7 separate regions of the Homo sapiens genome follow, and all the other regions are linked to region 5. Evidence: promoter capture Hi-C in 16 types of primary human blood cells and fetal thymus (Javierre and others, 2016). All regions are on one chromosome and are shown on one strand. Each heading gives the region's core, a stretch centred on a gene start or on the middle of the fragment in contact. The rest is flanking DNA. Distances are from core to core; before and after follow the strand shown.

The links. The method cuts DNA at HindIII sites, captures the fragments that hold promoters and counts their contacts. A CHiCAGO score of 5 or more calls a contact.
Region 1: a fragment that was not itself captured here is called in contact with the fragment with the promoter of KRTAP17-1 in region 5 in 1 of 17 cell types (endothelial precursors); the score reaches 5.3 in endothelial precursors.
Region 2: a contact is called between a fragment that was not itself captured here and the fragment with the promoter of KRTAP17-1 in region 5, in 6 of 17 cell types (M2 macrophages, endothelial precursors, M0 macrophages and 3 more). The highest score is 9.1, in M2 macrophages.
Region 3: a contact is called between a fragment that was not itself captured here and the fragment with the promoter of KRTAP17-1 in region 5, in 5 of 17 cell types (naive B cells, total B cells, erythroblasts and 2 more). The highest score is 6.9, in naive B cells.
Region 4: a contact is called between a fragment that was not itself captured here and the fragment with the promoter of KRTAP17-1 in region 5, in 2 of 17 cell types (endothelial precursors and M0 macrophages). The highest score is 7.1, in endothelial precursors.
Region 6: a fragment that was not itself captured here is called in contact with the fragment with the promoter of KRTAP17-1 in region 5 in 8 of 17 cell types (M1 macrophages, M0 macrophages, M2 macrophages and 5 more); the score reaches 12.7 in M1 macrophages.
Region 7: a contact is called between the fragment with the promoter of KRTAP1-5 here and the fragment with the promoter of KRTAP17-1 in region 5, in 3 of 17 cell types (M2 macrophages, erythroblasts and total B cells). The highest score is 9.0, in M2 macrophages.

Annotation. Positions count from the first base shown.
Region 1 is chr17:40,979,690-40,982,389 of GRCh38, reverse strand. KRT40 (keratin 40) reads left to right here. Exons shown (of 7, transcript NM_001389244.1): 3 at 1-83; 4 at 1,239-1,400; 5 at 1,480-1,605. LOC107985072 (a long non-coding RNA gene) reads right to left here. Exons shown (of 4, transcript XR_001752886.2): 3 at 1,783-1,941; 4 at 1-62. Among named protein-coding and RNA genes, the nearest start is that of KRT40, 3.3 kb to the left of the region's middle. RefSeq lists an enhancer at 1,783-2,384. The HindIII fragment of the contact is 2,975 bases long and covers 1-2,700 here.
Region 2 is chr17:40,872,063-40,874,763 of GRCh38, reverse strand. All of the region lies in intron 1 of LOC105371777 (a long non-coding RNA gene), which reads right to left. Among named protein-coding and RNA genes, the nearest start is that of KRT12, 6.2 kb to the right of the region's middle. The HindIII fragment of the contact is 2,363 bases long and covers 163-2,525 here.
Region 3 is chr17:40,938,670-40,941,393 of GRCh38, reverse strand. The region is part of intron 1 of LOC107985072 (a long non-coding RNA gene); the gene reads right to left. Among named protein-coding and RNA genes, the nearest start is that of KRT23, 2.4 kb to the right of the region's middle. The HindIII fragment of the contact is 2,711 bases long and covers 1-2,658 here.
Region 4 is chr17:40,960,687-40,963,453 of GRCh38, reverse strand. It overlaps KRT39 (keratin 39), which reads left to right. Exons shown (of 7, transcript NM_213656.4): 4 at 891-1,052; 5 at 1,167-1,292. The region is part of intron 1 of LOC107985072 (a long non-coding RNA gene); the gene reads right to left. Among named protein-coding and RNA genes, the nearest start is that of KRT39, 4.9 kb to the left of the region's middle. The HindIII fragment of the contact is 5,264 bases long and covers 1-2,767 here.
Region 5 is chr17:41,314,378-41,317,286 of GRCh38, reverse strand. KRTAP17-1 (keratin associated protein 17-1) reads left to right here and starts at 1,577. Exons shown (of 1, transcript NM_031964.2): 1 at 1,577-2,375. The coding sequence starts at 1,637. The coding sequence ends at 1,954. The HindIII fragment of the contact is 4,540 bases long and covers 1-2,649 here.
Region 6 is chr17:40,892,016-40,894,797 of GRCh38, reverse strand. The region is part of intron 1 of LOC105371777 (a long non-coding RNA gene); the gene reads right to left. Among named protein-coding and RNA genes, the nearest start is that of KRT20, 8.2 kb to the right of the region's middle. The HindIII fragment of the contact is 2,707 bases long and covers 1-2,611 here.
Region 7 is chr17:41,025,878-41,028,577 of GRCh38, reverse strand. It overlaps KRTAP1-5 (keratin associated protein 1-5), which reads left to right and starts at 1,370. Exons shown (of 1, transcript NM_031957.2): 1 at 1,370-2,552. The coding sequence starts at 1,423. The coding sequence ends at 1,947. The HindIII fragment of the contact is 9,785 bases long and covers 1-2,700 here.

The DNA.
Region 1 (2,700 bases), core at 27-2,526, 330 kb after region 5:
TGACCCTGTGCAAATCTGATCTGGAGGCCCATGTGGAGTCTCTGAAGGAAGATCTCCTTTGCCTTAAGAAAAACCATGAAGAGGTAAGGAAAGTGGCAACTCCGCTGAAGGACTCCGAGAGTAACGTACTTACATTGACAGATGATCTGTTGATGTTTGTAAATCGAATTTGGGCAGATGTTGTTTAAGCTGGAATAAAACTACTTGAGGCAGGGCCAGGCATGGTGGCTCACACCTGTAATCCAAGCACTTTGGGAGGCTGAGGCAGGAGGATCACAAGGTCAGGAGTTCGAGACCAGCCTGACCAATATGATGAAACCTCATCTCTACTAAAAATACAAAAATTAGCTGGGCATGGTGGCAGGCGCCTGTAGTCCTAGCTACTCGGGAGGCTGAGGCAGGAGAATCACTTGAACTCAGGAGGCGGAGGTTGCAGTGAGCCGAGATCTTACCACTGCACTCCAGCCTGGGTGACAGGGCGAGACTCCATCTCAAAAAACAAACAAACAAACAAACAAACAAAAACTACTCGAGGCATTATTACTATTCAACCTGATCATTCCAGTGTGTCTCTGATTTAAGGTGTGAAATAACCCCTAGACAGCGCCAGAGGAAGGAATCAAACTCTTCTCCTGCCCTTGCCTTTGTGGAGGAGGTAACTTCACAAATGGCTTCCTTTGGAGGCTTTATGCCACCCCTAGCTCCAGTCCACAGGGTATGAAAATCAGGCTGAGGAACAGACTGTGAAGTCCATTTCAAAAAAGGGATAAAGACTGTGCACTATCTGGACCAGTGTTTTTAAATATTCCGCATTTATAAACTTCTAAAAATCATAAAATATACAGCCACTGATATATTGATAAAGCTAGAAAATGAAAAGCTGAATGATGTAACAAAGTACATTTGCTCTTTGAACGTTTGTTGATGACAATCATAGCTAACATTTATTGACACCTTACTATGTGTCATAATTAACTTTTATAAGTTAATTATGTGTAGATTGACTCTTCTAGATCTCACAATAACTTTCTGGAAAAATGTCCAATTATTATGTCCATTTTACAGACGAAGAAACTGAGGCCCTTCTAAGTGGTGAAAAGAGATTCAGCCCAGGCAATCTGAATCAAAATCTCACACTTTTACCCACTGCTCCAAAAAACAGAAGTAGAATGCCATTGGATGTCAAATGGATTTTTCCCCACCATTCTGTGACATTCTTTACACCATCCCACTTTCAGGAAGTCAACTTGCTTCGTGAACAGCTTGGCGACCGCCTCAGTGTGGAGCTGGACACTGCCCCCACCCTTGACCTCAACAGGGTCCTGGATGAGATGCGCTGTCAGTGTGAAACGGTGCTTGCCAACAATCGCAGAGAAGCTGAAGAATGGTTGGCTGTTCAGGTCAGTACCCAGATTGAAAAAATGTCAGGCTTACAGACTTCTGCCTTTTTTGAATTCTCTAATGGTGTCTGTGTTTCAGACAGAAGAGCTGAATCAGCAGCAACTGTCCAGCGCGGAGCAGCTGCAGGGCTGCCAGATGGAGATCTTGGAACTGAAACGCACAGCCAGTGCTCTGGAAATTGAGCTCCAAGCACAGCAAAGCCTGGTGCGTGAGGCAAAGGCAGTGTCCGTTGTGTCACTGATAAGTCAGGCCCTGAGATGTTAAGCCCTCTTCCATATCCGAGGATCACATTTCCTTGCCTTTCCCGAGTACTGCCGTTTACCCAGCTATTAATAGAAGCAGAAGTGACAGGTCCACAGCTTGTCCTCTAAGATGCCTTACCTTCACTCCTGGGCTTGAGTCTGATGCTGCAGCAGCCTCCAGAGACAGGGAGGGAGAAGCAGAGCTGGAGAGAAACCTCCGGGCCATGGTCGCTTAAGCATTCTGGCAGGTTTTAATTCTCATTTGATTCAGGCCAGTTTTCCAGGCTCACTGTTATATCTAAAACAAAGAATCATTTTCAAACATTTCATCCTACAGTTTCCCAGGATCTACACTTCAACCTTATCCTTCACTGCACCACCCCCCACTCAAGCAACAGGAACACCATGCGTTCAAGATGACATGAACCAGTTCTGGTCAAGCACCACTGTGTGCATGTCATTAGGCCCTGCGGAGAACACCTAGAAGAACAATAGCTGAGCATTCATCCTGTGAGAGGCACTATGCTGATTTAAGGCTCACAGTAACTTTACCGGATAGATACCTTTATCCCATGACACAGATAAGGAAAACTGAGACTCAGATTAAGTAACTTGCAAAGGATGCAATTCTAAGAGGCAAACTTGGAAGCTGAGTTCAGCCAGTTGAATCCCAGAGTCTCTTCTCTCTCTCTTTTTAAATTTATTTTTATTGATATATAATATGCGTAAATTTTTTTTACGTAGATGTGATATTTTGTTACATGCATAGAATGTGTAATGATCAAGTCAGGATATTTAGAGCATCCATCACCTCAAGTATTTATCATTTCTATGTGTTGGGAGCATTTCAAGTCCTCCCATCTAGCTATTTTGAAATGCACAGTGTATTGTTGTTAACTGTAGTCACACTTCTCTGCTGTCCAACATGAAAACATATTCTTTCTGTCTAACTGTATGTTTGCACCCATTAACCAACCTCTCTTCATCCCCTTACCACACATATGCCAGTCCCAGCCTCTGGTATCCAGAGCCTCTTCTCTTAATAGCACTATACTAC
Region 2 (2,701 bases), core at 95-2,594, 440 kb after region 5:
ATCATATGAACTTGCCAATATATGATAATTTCTAAGAGTTGGGAATTTTTGAGGATGTGAATGGTACCACTTTGAATTCCTAAGATGTAATATAATATCTAACACATAGCAGGCACTTGATTCATTATTTTAAATTGAAAGAATAAAGATTTTTTTAAAGCTTTCCAATATATGATAATTTCTGACTTTCAGAAATAGCAATTTTATATGCTATTATATAGCATATATAATAAGGTTCAACCTTATTATGTTACCCCCACTTTACATATGAGGATAAATGAGGACTCATATGAAGACATGAGATAAAGACTTTCCCAAAGTCAAGCAGTTACCAAGTAGTAGAGCGAGACTGAACCTCAGCGCTGTTTCTCTAAAACCAGGACACCCTCATAAGCAACTAATTACATAACAAAGCAATACATGATTCACAGTTGAAATAGGCACTTGCCTATCCGCAGTTATTTTGTTGTTTTCTAATTGTCATTTTCATCAGCCAGACACAACAGCCAATTGTGGCAAATGTCCAGCTTTGCTGGCTAACATCACACATGACTTGATTCAGTACAACTTTTGTCAGAAAAGGTATTCTCACCTATTCTCATTGCCTTCTTTTCCAAAGTGAAAAGATTTCACTCATTTTTTTCTTAATTTTCTTCCAAGTCACGCTAGCTAGTAAGTTGCATTTAAAGATGTTAAGAATATTTAAAAGTGAATTCTTTTTCACCTACTGAGACACATTCCAGAATAGTCTGAAACTTTGACATGCAAATACCAGACTGTGAATCTGATTAATAAGAAACCTATGCAGATGGGTTTGTAACTGATTAGGCCTGACCACTGTTATATGGCAATGATGACACTGTGTTAAAAGAGGTAGGATTGTTATTCTTAATTTAGGATGGTCCTCTTTTAACTACCTGTTAAAAGAAGTAGAATTGTTATTTTTAGATCAGAAAAATGAAGATTTTTTCTTCCTCTTGCTTCTTTGGTCTGTCTCTAGTTTCTTCCAAGCAATCTTTCAAAGAAGTGAGTGAGAGCTACATACATGTGGACCAGATGGTGGAGTTCTACCTCCAGTTCTGCCAGCAGTTACTGTGTGAAAGTGAAGCATTAATCTTTGTATCTATCTATATTTCTGATATGAGCTAAGAACTAGAATGACATAATCCTATTTCTGACAGGTAAACAGATCCAGAGAGAAGTCTTTATCACACATTAGAATTATCATCAATGTATTTTTTCATTTTATATGAAATTGTCAGTGCAGAAGTGAAGCTATCAAACTCAGAGAGAGCCCCTAGAGGTGAGGTTAGGATGGAAATAACTATTTTTTCTGAGCTCTGGAGATTATTTCTACCCAGAGTTCTGAATCATCTAAAAAGGAGAATGACATGGAGTGATACAAAATCAAAACATGGCCAGTGACCTCCTCAGACACTCTGTTCTCATCCACATGCATCAGGATCAGCCTCAGGTACCTGATTAGACCCCCAAGTAACAATTCCAACTTAAAGCATTAGTAGTGATTTTTATTTTTGAATTCTCTTTCAAACATCTCTGTTTTCTCTCCCCTAGGCTCATTTCCAAGATTCCTCTCATCAGGGTATTATTTTATCATCTTCCTGTCTCCTACCACTTTCAAAATTCTCCCCTGCTTTCAAGAACCATTGATCTCTGGAGCCCAGAAGTCAATCTCACTCATACCCCTTAGGGTCCTTGTTTAACCCTCATCTCAAAAGCACAATACATAAAATGTAGGCAACCCAAAATTCTCTCAGTCACTCACAGGATTTTATAATGTTATCCAAAGTGAAAGATGTTACAGATCAAGGGATCAGCGAGTTGCAGAAAATGACAGGTCTGTCTTACGGGAAAAAACTCAGGTAGAAAACCCTGCAAAGACCAGGACAGAAACCAACCTGACATGAAAAGATGAGGGTATGATTTACTCAATAAAAATCTAAAGACTTGTAAAAACCACATAACTAATTTTCTCTATTTTGAACATTTCCTAAACTCTACAAAAATGGAAGATATAATTCTTTTGAACAGTTTGCCCTGGCTATAATCATTTTCCTCTCTGCCTCAACTTATGCAATCACTCTGCCAACAAGCCCAAGATTGTTTATTGTTTTTTACATCACCACTGCCTTATACATTAATGTGGCTGTCAAAGAAAATTATTTTCACTTCTAAAACCTCTAAAGCAGAGTCTTGATTATTTAACTTAGCCTCCCACTTAAAAAAAAAAAAGCCACTGAAGAAGAAATATTTCCCTTTTCAACTTCTGAAGTTGCTCCCCATTCATAACTGAATTCAGAATAAATATTGGTCAAAGCATACCAGTAAATTAGGGCACAGTCATTTTCAAATGAAATGAATTTCAAATGACACATTCAAACACATTAAGACTTAACTTCTTTCAAATGAAATCATTCAAGGAGTGCAGTGATAAAGTTCAGCGAAACACTAGGCTAGGACTCAGGATAAAAAATAAATTAGATGTAGTACCTACCTAACAAGCTTAGTCTAGGATAATATGTTATATGTATAGAAACATAAACAAATAATATATAAACATAATTTTTAGAGATTGAGCAATATTATTTAAATTTTACCATAGGCATTAGAGTTGGAAAGTGTACCTTTCAGCACAAAATCAATTCCAAGTTCAAAAATTCAACTTAATCATATTCCCGTA
Region 3 (2,724 bases), core at 54-2,553, 380 kb after region 5:
GTTTTAGAGATTTTACTAACTTCTTAAAGTCTATCTATTGCATTCCATGTTTAAAATTGCAGCTGCAATTGACTGTTTTCAGCTGGGAACATTTTCCCAATGGATAAGATGCTACAAGGGCATAAGCATGAGTGGTCAAGTAAAGCTGATATAAAACACTTTGTTACAGCATGATCCTCAGACCGTTTTCTCATATTTCTATTTGTCCAGGAAAAAGGGGCCAACAGAGAGATGATGTGAGTTATGAAGTCTTCAATACAGTATTTCAAATGAGGAAGAAAACAACAGCCAACTTGAGTCGCTTACAAATAGTATCTGTATATAGTGTCTGTTCATGTCCTTTGCCCACTTTTAATGGGCATGTTTTATTTCTATAAATGTCTAATCTTCTTATGTAACCTTCCAACTCATAGGATAATAGCATAGCAATTTTGCCTGAAGACCTACTACTCATCTGTGCTGAAATATCATGTGTAGTAAAAATGTATTTGAGAGTCATTTTGGCCATCTTTCTCTACTATAAAGAACGGGTGCCTATAAAATGCTTCATTAATGGAATGGTTGTCTTGAAAAGGCACACAAACAGACGGTGTACCCAGTTCATGACAGCTACCTTCTGACAGGGCTCCCTTCTGACCCCAACACACCCACATGCAACCCCATGCATTCACTCAACAGCTGAGCTGTCTTACAAAGTACCCACTCCCTTTCAAGACGACAACTGAGTTCATCAGAAAGATGAATCAAATGTGAAAACTACAAATGTTTCAGCCAGAAAATCATGCAAAGCAGAATGATTTTGATTCTGAACAATTTGCACTCTACAGAAATACCAAAAGAAATCCTGAAACCATATTGCAAGTGAAATGCTTGTGAACCAAAAGGATCAGTAAATGTTGGCCATTTACTGAGGAAGCAGTTGGAGGCTTCATCCCTCGCGTTCTTTAAGAATACTTCAAAAACAAGCTCAGCACTCTGCCGTTGTCCTCCCTAAAAGCAAAAATCTGCAACAAGTGGCTCAGCGTTGCTTTTCTTTCCAGTCCTGCGATTCCAAAAATCCTGGCATTTACAGGCCATTTTATCCTTCTTAAAAATGTAAAATTTAAAAGAATGTGATGAACGTTTTTAAATTCTAGAAAAACTATGTCACTAAAGTGAATTCATTTTAGTTCCTTATTTGCCAATTAAAATGTGTTAATTGACTTAAGTTTTTCTAAAATGGAATAAGTCGCAGGAGCCCATTTTTCCAATTATTCTAGCCATTCTTTTGTCTTCCAATACATACACATAGTATCTGAAAGGATGTTCACCAAATGTCACCAAACGTTGTGTGTGTGTGGTAGAATTTTTAAATATTTTTTCCTGTACCATCATGTATCACTTGATTTTGTATAATAAGCATGTATCATTTCTTTTAATGCTTTTAAAATGATGCTTTTAAAAAAGCATCATTTCTTTTAAAATCCAATGGAACTCTACACATTAGAAGTTATGGAAAACCAGGGCCGGGTGCGGTGGCTCATGCCTATAATCCCAGCACTTTGGGAGGCCGAGGTGGGTGGATCACAAAGTCAGAAGTTCAAGATCTGCCTGGCCAACATGGTAAAACCCCGTCTCTACTAAAAACTACAAAGATTAGCCGGGCGTGGTGGCACGCACCTGTGGTCCCGGCTACTCGGGAGGCTGAGGCAGAAGAATCGCTTGAACCCGGGAGGTGGAGGTTGCAGTGAGCCACGATCACATCACTGCACTCCAGCCTGGGCGACAGGGCGAGACTCTGTCTCAAAAAAAAAAAAAAGAAGTTATGGAAAATTGGCTGGGCAGGGTGGCTCATGCCTGTAATCCCAGCACTTTGGGAGGCCAAGGCAGGCAGATCATGAGGTCAGGAGTTCAAGACCAGCCTGGCCAACATGGTGAAACCCCGTCTCTACTAAAAATACAAAAAATTAGCTGGGCATGGTGGTGCGCACCTGTAATCCTAGCTACTCGGGAGGCTGAGGCAGGAGAATCGCTTGAACCCAGGAGGCGGAGGTTGCAGTGAGTCAAGATTGCGCCATTGCACTCCAGCCTGGGTGACAGAGCAAAACTCCATCTTGAGAAAAAAAAAAAAAGAAGTTATGGGAAACCATCATATAACAGTACTAGAAGAGACTATTTCTCCCCAGTGCTCTCAGATCTCACCACCAGTTTTTCCTGGCCCTGGTCCTGCTATGACACAAGAAATCTTTTGCTCAAGGATAAGTCCTATAAATCAAAACTCCCACACATGGACATAAAATGAGACAGTGGCCAAATCTATGGGGTTGATAAGTCACTGCCACTCAGACATGCCTGAAATAATTAGAGAAGCATTAATTTCATTGTAGATTCTGGTGAGAGAATTTAGAAAAAGGCAGTGCAGCCCGGCCCTTGCACATGCTAAAGGTAAATGTTTTCTTCCTTGGTAAGTCTGGGTCCAGGCGAACAGGAACCAGAGCTGACCATAACTTTGATGACCAGGAACCGTCCACATCCACAGAACACTGGTTGCCACCACTCGCCAAACAAGTCTCTCTAGTTCCCTCATTTGCTCTATTTTTATCACTTGTCTCTTTTGTCTTTTTCTCATATCTGAGATGTAAGTGACTGTCGGCACTCTTTCTAAGCACTCTCCAAGCTTCCCTGAGGCTTGGAGGCTCATTTTTCCAGCTCGTGCACAGTGAAATAAAAAATATTCAGAGACTC
Region 4 (2,767 bases), core at 169-2,668, 350 kb after region 5:
CAGTTCCACATGGCTGGGGAGGCCTCAGGAAACTTACAATCATGGCTTAAGGGGAAGCAGGCACATCTCACTTGGCAGCAGGAGACAGAGAGAGACCAAAGGGGGAAGAGCCCTTTATAAAACTATCAGATCTTGTGAGAACTCACTCACTATCCTAAGAACAGCATGGGGGACACCACCCCCATGATCCAATCTCCTCCCACTAGGTCCCTCCCTTGACACATGGGAATTATGGGAATTACAATTCGAGATGAGATTTGGGTGGGGACACAGAGCCAAACCACTGCTACGTACTACTCTGGTTTAGCCCTGAAAATACCTACTGCTACTAGCACTGGTTCAAGGTAGTATTTCAAATCCACTGGCTCCAACACAATATCTGGAGCCATAAGGGGAAGAAAGGCCTCCAACATCCCCTCCAGCTTTTCTACAAGAAGGAACCCAATTTTTCTGTCCTTACAGTCTTCCCATGTTTGTAGGCATCCCTATACAGGCTTCTGCCACCTCCCATTGGTACAAGTCAATATTGGTGCAAGTCAATATTGGCACAATCCCGTATTTGCACCATAGAGACTATAATCTCTCATGATCAATTCCACCTTTATCCTGTTTCACCCATTATCCAGCCCTGGAAATGATCTAAATTTTTTGGAACTCTGGTCTTGCTACTCATTTTTTTTTAATTTTGCACACATTTAAACACACAGTCCTACCTGAAAGAGTCTTAAATCATTTTATAGCATCTCAATAACACCTGTAAATCATGTATTCCTTTGTTGTGGGCTATATTTTAGACACAATTAAGCTAAATCGTAGCAGTTAGAGTGAAACAAGAACACAAAGGGGTTATCTGTTCACCAAGTGACTTCACAGTCTTTTTCTTTCCTTAGGAAATCAATTCTTTACAGTGTCAGCTTGGGGAGAGACTTGACATTGAAGTGACTGCTGCCCCTTCTGCTGACCTAAACCAGGTTCTACAAGAAATGAGATGTCAATATGAGCCCATCATGGAGACAAACCGCAAAGATGTGGAACAGTGGTTCAACACGCAGGTGGGGGATATAGAAAAGTCAAAAACAATAAGCTGATGCTGCATTTCTAGGGCCCTTTAATCAAAGTCATGTTTTCCTCCCATAATATTCTCAGTCTCTGGCTGTGTGTTTCAGATAGAGGAGCTGAATCAACAAGTGGTGACCAGCTCTCAACAGCAGCAATGCTGCCAAAAGGAGATCATAGAACTGAGACGCAGTGTGAACACTCTGGAGGTTGAACTGCAGGCCCAGCATCGAATGGTACTGAGCAAGCTGACCAAGCCTAGCTCAGCAAAGATGGAAACAGTCCCTTACACCTGTGTGCTGCAGTATTTCCCAAACTGTGTCTTTCAGAACAATAGTTCCTCATTTGTTAAAGCGTCTATGGCTGAAAAAGAGCTTTGTGGCCAAATAAGTCTACGAAACGCTGCACTAAACCAAGGTTAAACAGGGTGCCTTCCTGTGAGCCATTAATAAGCTAATATACACCATGAATCTCCAGGAAGGGGGTATATGGTATTCAGCATTCCAAAACTTATTTGACTGTGGATCCCCCCACTTTTTTTAGAACATCTCATGGTATTAATGATTCATGAAGTACACTTTGGGAAACACTGGGAGAGCATTTTATTATATGCAAAGCATTTTTACAAGCTATCACATGAGATTTATAAAGCAATCCTAAGAGGGGGGGTGGCATAATTATTAACGAATGTTACAGATGAGGCTCCAAGAGCTAAAGTGATTTTCCCAAGCAAATCCAAGGTAAGTTTCAGCCCACCTATTTTATAGAGACACTGAGATCCTGAGACATTAAGAAACTCATCCAAAGTCACAAAAGAAATAAGAGTCTGAGCCAGAGTTTAGATTCCAAAGCCAGTATCATTCTGTCTCATGATAATGCCTCTCTGAAGTAGAGAATTGCTTACATGCTCTGATGTGAAGGCTTTTGGGAAGACCTTGCCCCACACTGGTTTTGTCACCAGCTAGTCATGTGACCTTGGACAACATATTGAACCACTTGAACCTCAGTTTTCTCATCTATAAAAATTGGGATAATCATGCAAATAATAGGCTATTAAAACCTAAAATCCCATCATTATCCATAGACTTACAGAATGATAGAGCAGGAATGAAATTTACTCATCAGTTTCAACTTTCATATTTTACATATAAAGGAATTGATCTGGTGGATAAATTGTATATGGTAAAACATTGCTTCCTTCCTTTTTTAAGACACGAACACTCACTGAATGAAGTGCCATGGTAATGCTTTTTTTTTTTTTTCTTTTTGAGATGGAGTCTCACTCTGTCGCCCAGACTGGACAGCAGTGGCACGATCTCGGGTCACTGCAACCTCCACCTCCCGGGTTCAAGCAATTCTCTGCCTTAGCCTCCCAAGTAGCTGGGATTACAGGTGCCCACCAGAACACCCAGCTAATTTTTTGTATTTTTAGTAGAGACGGGGTTTCACCATCTTGGCCAGGCTGGTCTTGAACTCCTGACCTTGTGATCCACCCACCTGGGCCTCCCAAAGTGCTGGGATTATAGGCGTGAGCCACTGCGCCCAGCCAGTAATGCATTTTTAATGCCTGGGTGTGCATTAAGTTATTATTTTTTCTCTCCTAAGTAGGAAAGTGTGGTGCGAGACTATTGGTTGGTCAAGAAAGAGAAAGTGAAACAAATACTTACAGAGAAGCAAAAAGAGAAAGAGAGAAAGAGGGAAGAGATAAAGG
Region 5 (2,909 bases), core at 328-2,827:
TTATATCAGTGTTTCCTAATGTAACCCAAGTTACCTGAGAAAGTTTAAAATATATAGCTTCTCAAGCTCTCATAAGCACACATTCTGATTTATCATAAGGACTGGAATACAGTTTGGGAATCTGTATTTTTCAAAAGGCCCCCTTTTAGGCAATTCTGATATAAAACCCTGGACCAGATGATGTTTCAGGGGTTCCTCCCAGCTCTAAAATTCCATATCCTGTGAAGTATTGAGTATCATATCAGATCCAAGTAACTCATTCATCATTTACCCTCCCGACTCCCACCCTGTCCTTAGTTCTTCTAGCCCTTCTTAGAGGCTGTCTTACTTCTAGCCCATCTTACAAAGAAAGGGAAATGAAAAGGGAAGGACTAGATCCCTTGATCCAGATCCTTACTCCCATCCCTCCTTCCATTCCCACCCCACCCCTATCTTCTGTCCTCTACCCCTACTAGATGTTGTATTCCAGCTCCAGGGCTGCCATGGGCACTCCAAGAGGAGAACAAGGTACCAAAGTCCAAGAAAGAGACAGAAATTTTGACCCATCTCAAAATTTACACATGGACCTGAACCATCTGTAGATTTTAGACTCCTTGCAAAGGCATTTTATTCCTTGGGATGACACTCTGGGTATTTTGTATTCTAATTTCTCCTTCTGCCAGATGGTCTATAAGGTTCGAACTCTTAAAAAAAGTGCGTTACATTCCCATTTTAATGTAGCATTTTGGATATTTACTGATCTCCTTCCTGCTTTCTTCTTTCTTTTCTTCTTTCCTTTCTTCCTCCCCTTCTCCTCTTCTTCCTCCTCCTGCATCTCTTCCTTCCCCGGTCAAGGAAAGGCCTGGGGCTGGAGTGGGGGTGGGTAGAGGGTTCTGATCTCAGTTCTTCCCACCTATTTAGAGAGAAGTGCGAATATTCAGCTCACCTTGCCGCCGAGACAGACCATGCCTTACCAGCTTCTTGCAGCTTTACGATGAGTCTCTCTCGGTTTCACAGGGCAGTTATTACTCATGACTGATGCTCACCGGCCAAGCCTAAACGTGTGGCACACTCCCCATACCACACACAGACACAAACATTTGCCTGGCTCACATGAACCGGGATGAGGATGCCATTTCCACCTGGGAGGAGCCACGTGACCAGGCGTTCTCAGTAGCCTCCACTGGTGTCAGGGGGAACAGAGCATTCGGCTGTTGCCGGTCTGCCTTTCCAGGACTAGCATCCATGGAAGATGGGGTCCATCGCCAACCTGCGAAGATGTGGAAGGCAAGCCCCTCATTCCAGAGCCAGAAGCTGTGGCCGGCTTCCCCTTCCCATCTCCAACCTGGGCTAATGACAGCTGGCAGATGCTTGGCCATGATGACAGGTCTTTTCGAAGATGTATTTTTACCCTCTGGATAAACAGCAGTTGGCAGGAGTGGGGCGTTTTTATGAGTTGAGGTACTCAGGACTGGAAAATAAACAGCCAGTTAATGAGCCGGTCTTATGGAAACTTGCATAAATAATAACAAAGAAAACATCCCGTCCCTCATGCCTGGGTGAGGGGATATAAAAGCTGCCATCCAGATGGCTGGCCACCGTCAGTCGTGGGGAACTCCGGCTGCGTTACCGACCTGCGAGCTGACGGGCCCGGACCATGGGGTGCTGCCCGGGGGACTGCTTCACCTGCTGCACCCAGGAGCAAAACTGCTGTGAAGAGTGCTGCTGTCAGCCGGGCTGCTGTGGCTGCTGCGGCTCCTGCTGTGGCTGTGGGGGCTCTGGCTGCGGGGGCTCTGGCTGCGGGGGCAGCTGCTGCGGATCGTCTTGCTGTGGATCTGGCTGCGGAGGCTGTGGAGGCTGCGGAGGCTGCGGGGGTGGCTGCTGTGGATCCAGTTGCTGTGGGTCCAGTTGCTGCGGCTCCGGGTGCTGTGGGCCTGTGTGCTGCCAGCCCACACCTATATGCGACACAAAATGAAGACCTTTCCCTCCACCACTGATGCAGTCCCACCGAAAGCCTCCATCTGCTCCAGGGGGACAGCCCCTCGTGTCCAGAACCTTCCATACCCCCAAGACAGTGTCTTGTCTTTCTGTGATTTGTAGAGGAGGGCTTGTTCTCCAACACCTTCTCTGGTATTTCAAGGCACCGAGAACAAGAGCCATACTCTGATGAAACATTAAAACTCGGTCACAACTAAGTGATCCCAAGCTCAAGGGTGAATCCCCAATACTTTACTTATTCACATGAAGTTCAATGTCTTGTACTATAAGACATCCTCTTCTTCAAGGTGTCTTTGGGACTGATCCTCCGCCCTGGCTTTCTGCAGCTTTGAGATGCAAAAAAGGTCCATCTTCTTTGTGAGCCTCTTAATAAATTTGAGCATGCTGGCATAACCTAATTAGTTCTCTTGCCTCTTCCTTGACCTCCCTGCTGAGGACTGGGTTAGAAAAATTCACTCTGGCATCTGCCTTAGGGTTTTTGAATTGTGGTTTTTGGATCACCTGCGTCGGAATCACCTGGGAGCTTGTTAAAACTGGAGACTCTGAGGCCCTCCCTAAGACATACAGAATCAGAATCCACCAAAGTGTGGCCTGGGAATCTGTGTTTTTAACAAGAACCTTAGATAATTCTTATGCACTGAAGTTTGAGAACCATAGATCTAGACGGAAGCTTCCGTGTGCTGCATGAGATTCACTTGAAAAGCTTTTAAAAATATAGATCATTGGGTTTTATCACTGGAGATTTTACCCGTTAGCTCTAGGGCCTAGAGTCCCTAGGGACCTGCATTTTTAAAAGCTCCTGGGTGAATGCTGATGCTGGCCACATTTAATGGTGATTGAGGGGCATGGCTTTCTTCTGCACTACAGCTCTCCTAGGATGGTTCTGCAGGAGGGCTTCAGGCTTGATCAGAACTTTCTGGCAAAGTCGGAAA
Region 6 (2,782 bases), core at 9-2,508, 420 kb after region 5:
AAATGTGAACACATCTGCCGTTTGCATTCTGAAAAACGAATTAATAATACATCTCTTCATCTAGTCTGATGCATCCATATACATCGTGCCTTGCTCTAGGAGCATTCTGGAGCCAATGATCGCCGCCGTATCTTAGAGCACCTGTTTCAATTTTGTGTGATTAGTAGCACGGGAAGGACCATATTGAAAGAGGAGGTCTCTAGCCCCAGGTAGAAACAAAAATGTATTGAGTATAGACCTTATATTCACCTTTTAAGCAGTAATTTCGTTGATGAGAGTTTTGTTTATACATCAGGATGTTGTTGCCAAGACAGTTTTCCTGGGTCATGCAAAAGCACTAAAAATCAATTTGCAGAGCAAATATTATGTAGCTTAATCTCAACTTTCTATATTTGTACCGTTGCTATAGGCAAGTCATTAATCTGCATATGCCTCAGCTTTTCATTTGTAAAATGAGGATGGCCTACATGACTTTCAAGGGCTCTTTCAGATATGATAGCCTATATGGTTCTTTGTATTTAGAAACAAGCCTCATGAAAAATAAAAACACATGGTGAGTGATTTGTCACTTGCTTACTTGTTTTCAAAAATAGTAAGTTTGGGTTGTCCAAGTAACATAAAAGCATATCAGAAAATTAAATCACTGATGATTTCTCCCTTAGAACATAGTCTAAAAAAGTTCAATGCTAATTGGTTATTACCATTTAGTTAGCTAACAATATTATAGCCTATAGCTAGGCAATATTTTCTAGAGCTTTCACAAGCACCATAAATTCTACAGTCTTCAGTTATCACAATGAATGAAACGCTCAATGATGTGATAATGCAGCAGTTTAGAGAGAAGAAGCCTCCAGGCAGCAGCAAGGGCTATGCAAGATGGCAGCCTCTCCCAGGAGATGCTGTTTCCTGTGGTCTGTCTGTGCAGATTTGACTCTGGAGTTTTGGAAGACTGAGTGAACTAGAATCATGGTGGTAATTTATATATGAGGGATAAACATAAGAATCATCAAGACTGGCACCGGGCATGGTGGCTCACACTTGTAATACCAGCACTTTGGGAGGCCGAGGTAGGTGGATCACCTGAGGTCAGGAGTTCGAGACTGACCAACATGGTGAAACCCCATCTCTACTAAAAAATACAAAAATTAGGCCAGGCGTGGTGGCTCACACCTGTAATCCCAGCACTTTGGGAGGCGGAGCTGGGCAGATCACCTGAGGTCAGGAGTTTGAGACCAGCCTGACCACCATGGAGAAACCCCGTCTCTACTAAATATACAAAAAATTAGCCGGGTATGGTGGCACATACCTGTAATCCCAGCTACTCAGGAGGCTGAGGTAGGAGAATCGCTTGAACCTGGGAGGCAGAGGTTGCAGTGAGCCGAGATTGCACCATTGCACTCCAGCCTGGGCAACAAGAGCAAAACTCCATCTCAAAAAAAATATATATATATATAAAACTTAGATGGGCATGGTGGCAGGTGCCTGTAATCCCAGCTACTTGGGAAGCTGAGGCAGAAGAATCGCTTGAATCCAGGAGGCGGAGGTTGCAGTGGGCCAAGATCATGCCATTGCACTCTGGCCTGGGCAACAGCGCAAGATTCTGTCTCAAAAAAAAAAAAATCAATAATACTGGAGAAAACCTTTCCTACGTACCTTATCAGTACCTTATTATGCACTCCCAGCCTGGTCTCCAAATCAGAATACTCAACAGTCTTCCTCTTCATCCAGGTCTCCTCCACCTAAATCTGACACAAGTGCTACAAACTTGGCATTTCCACAAACACACCATGTTTCCCTTTGCAATGAGATTCTGTCATTTGCAACAACATGGATGGAACTGGAGGTCATTATGTTAAGTAAACCATCTCCCAAACCATCTCCCAGTCCTGTCCCAGTGTCCCCCTTGCCATGGGGTACCACTATCACCACCCAGTCATTCTCATCTCATCCTATTCCCCATGTCCCACACCCACTCATTCCACAAAGGAATCAGGGCCAAAGCCCATGCACACACTATACCCAAGAAAGAGAGACATGCACAGGAGAGATGAACGGGGTGACCAACTGTCCTGGGACTGACTGTCCCAGTTTTAACTCTGAAAGTCTCACATTGCAGAAAGCTCTGTGTCCTGGGCAAACCAGGACAGTTGGTCATCCTGGAGGGAAGGAATTTGAGAGCACAGGGATGGCTTCCTGGAAGAGATGACATGCAGAAGAAGAGAAGGGGATGGAGTATACAGAAGCATGGAATGGAGGAATCAGTGGTGTGTGTTACTGGAGTGTGCCATCTGAGGCATGGAGGGGTGACCAGGGGGTCTAAAAAGGTAGGCAGGAGCTAGATCTTTGAGAGCTGTATATTGGACTTGACTACATACTGTTGTCAGTTTTTTACAGAAGTGAAATAATCAGATTTGCATTTTTAGGTAGGTGTTTGAGACTGGACCTCAACGTTCATGAACTAATGATGGCTAGAAACAGGTGCTAATATTATTTTTAAATTGTCAGTAACTTCTTTACTATGATTCTAGAGGTAGGAACTAGAATTAGTCTTGGTGACAAATTATTCTTCTGTTTTGGGAGGAATTCAGTTGGGCTCTCTCTTAGTCAAGCTTGTGTAAAATAAGTACTCACTTGTCCTTGGCATAACACTGGACATGGGCAAAATAACACGGATACGGAGCCAATTGCAGGGGTGAAGAGGACCGTTGAGCCTGTGGCTTCCCAGTCAGAGATTTAGGATGTTAAATCCAAATGCAGCCCTATCTGGTTTCAAACGTCACCT
Region 7 (2,700 bases), core at 121-2,620, 290 kb after region 5:
ATCACGAGGTCAGGAGATTGAGACCATCCTGACTAATATGGTGAAACCCAGTCTTTACTAAAAATACAAAAAAAAAATTAGTCAGGTGTGGTCGTGGGTGCCTGCAGTCCCAGCTACTTGGGAGGCTGAGGCAGGAGTATGGCGTGAACCTGGGAGGCAGAGCTTGCAGTGAGCCAAGATCACGCCACTGCACTCCAGCCTGGGCAACAAGCAAGACTCTGTCTCAAAAAAAAAAATTAACACAACCTAGAACAAAACAAAACATATTTTACCATTTAATTTTTAAATTCTTCATTAGGCATTAGAGTGTAATACACAAAATACAATAGGATGCAAATATAGAAAGAAACACGTTTTCCACATTATTTACAAGCTCCCAGAACTTACCTCTATATTTAATTGGTAGCAATGATGGATTACACACAAAATTATGCAATTTCCAAGAGGAATAAAGTAGATGGCAGTACATTTTTCAAAGTGTCATAACTCCTAGATATTTTTTCCCGAGCCCGGTTCCACTACTAAATCCAAAAAATAAAATAAAATAAACCAAAAAACACATTTCCTAGTCTCTTTACAGCAAATAACAAGACTCTTTCATGAGAAGTACTACAGCTTGAAAGTTCTCTTTAATCATGTTTGAGTGGTATTGATATCCATGAATCAAGCCTTTTACTCCACCTATTCAATAAACATTTATTGAATCAGATTCAGTAAACATTTATTAAGGTTCTACCACAAACTAAGGACTCTGCTGGATACCTTCCTAAATACTATGTCAGTTTGGTTCCCAAGAACAGATTTCTGGTCTGGAACAGGAATAATAGTCACACATTCCAAATTGGTTGAAATCAAAGGAACTATAATCGGTAATTCAATAAGACATTGGAACAAAAAAAGGTGAAATCTGCGAATTATGTATGACCAAAGGTATTCCTTCAGTTCAGTAGATATCCAGATATCCAAAATTCAATAAAATTTAGTCTATATATCTAGGAGGAAAAAATAATAGTTAAATATAACAGCACAATTATTACTCTTAGCCTTAGAGGTATGGATAGATTGTCACGTGGAATAACTATTATGTAAAATGAGAGCATTCATTTGGACTAAAATGGAAGTACTCTTTGAACATGGGAAACCACAAACATATTCCAAAGAGCAAAGGACTGATATGAGGAGTCCAGAAGAAACTATAAAACAGTAATTTCTAAACTATTGCTCATAATGTGTCACAAGTATTTCAACATAAGCCAATCAGAGATCCACGGAGTAACAAATTTAAACAAAAACAAAGAAAATATGTTAACAATTTTGTAAACAGCAGCTGGTTCAGATATATAAAAGGACCAACGTGGAAGTCACCACCAAACCTCAGAAACTCCTCCAAGCAACCTAACTCTTAACCCAACTTCTGACACCATGACCTGCTGCCAGACCAGCTTCTGTGGATATCCCAGCTTCTCCATCAGTGGGACCTGTGGCTCCAGCTGCTGCCAGCCAAGCTGCTGTGAGACCAGCTGCTGCCAGCCACGCAGCTGCCAGACTAGCTTCTGCGGATTTCCCAGCTTCTCAACCAGTGGGACCTGCAGCTCCAGTTGCTGCCAGCCAAGCTGCTGTGAGACCAGCTGCTGCCAGCCAAGCTGCTGTGAGACCAGCTGCTGCCAGCCAAGCTGCTGCCAGATCAGCTCCTGCGGAACTGGCTGTGGCATTGGTGGTGGCATCAGCTATGGCCAGGAGGGCAGCAGTGGAGCTGTGAGCACCCGTATCAGGTGGTGCCGCCCAGACAGTCGTGTGGAGGGCACCTACCTACCCCCCTGCTGTGTGGTGAGCTGCACGCCCCCATCCTGCTGCCAACTGCACCATGCCCAGGCCTCCTGCTGCCGCCCGTCCTACTGTGGACAGTCCTGCTGCCGCCCAGTCTGCTGCTGTGAGCCCACTTGCTGAAAGCCAGTTTGCTTATTTTCAATTGCCTAGGTCACAGTGTCTCTGAACTGTTCATCCCTTGACCACCTCTGGACCACTAACAAGTTCTCAGACTTTGCATTGCTTGTGATGGAGACTACTAAGTATATGAGCTCACAATTCTATCTGATTCCATTCTACAATGAATACCTTGACCCTTCACTGGGGACACAGAAATGCTACAAAGCCACCTGCTGATCATCAATTTGCTTGGGATATACTATTTCTGATATTTCTGCAGGATTAAAAATTACTGACATGTTGTGGAATTTATCCATGAGAACTATCCACAAGTCTAATGTTTCCATGCTTTATAATCTATTTTATCTTGTTTACCTAAAATTTTTTGCAACATCAAAGACACCAAATTATAGCCAAGTGACATTCCTCAAGTCACCAGAGAGAATGGAAGCTCATCACCCAACATTCAGCTTCTAAGAAGTAGGCTGGACTTTCCACATTTTAACATCTGATCCATCCCTTGGTTTTTGGATCATAATGATCTTGCCTGCTGGATATTTCAGTTATATCTGTGATACAATGTCTTCTGTCATTTCTTAATAAATATTATATACTAGGCAAAGAAACCATTGTCTTTGTTTTCACTTGTACATCACCTGGTTTAACTGCTTATAATTCAAGAATGTCTACTTGAGGCCAAGAGCAGTGGTTCACACCTGTAATCCTAGCATTTTGGGAGGCTGAGGTGAGTGGATTACCTGAGCTCACGAGTTT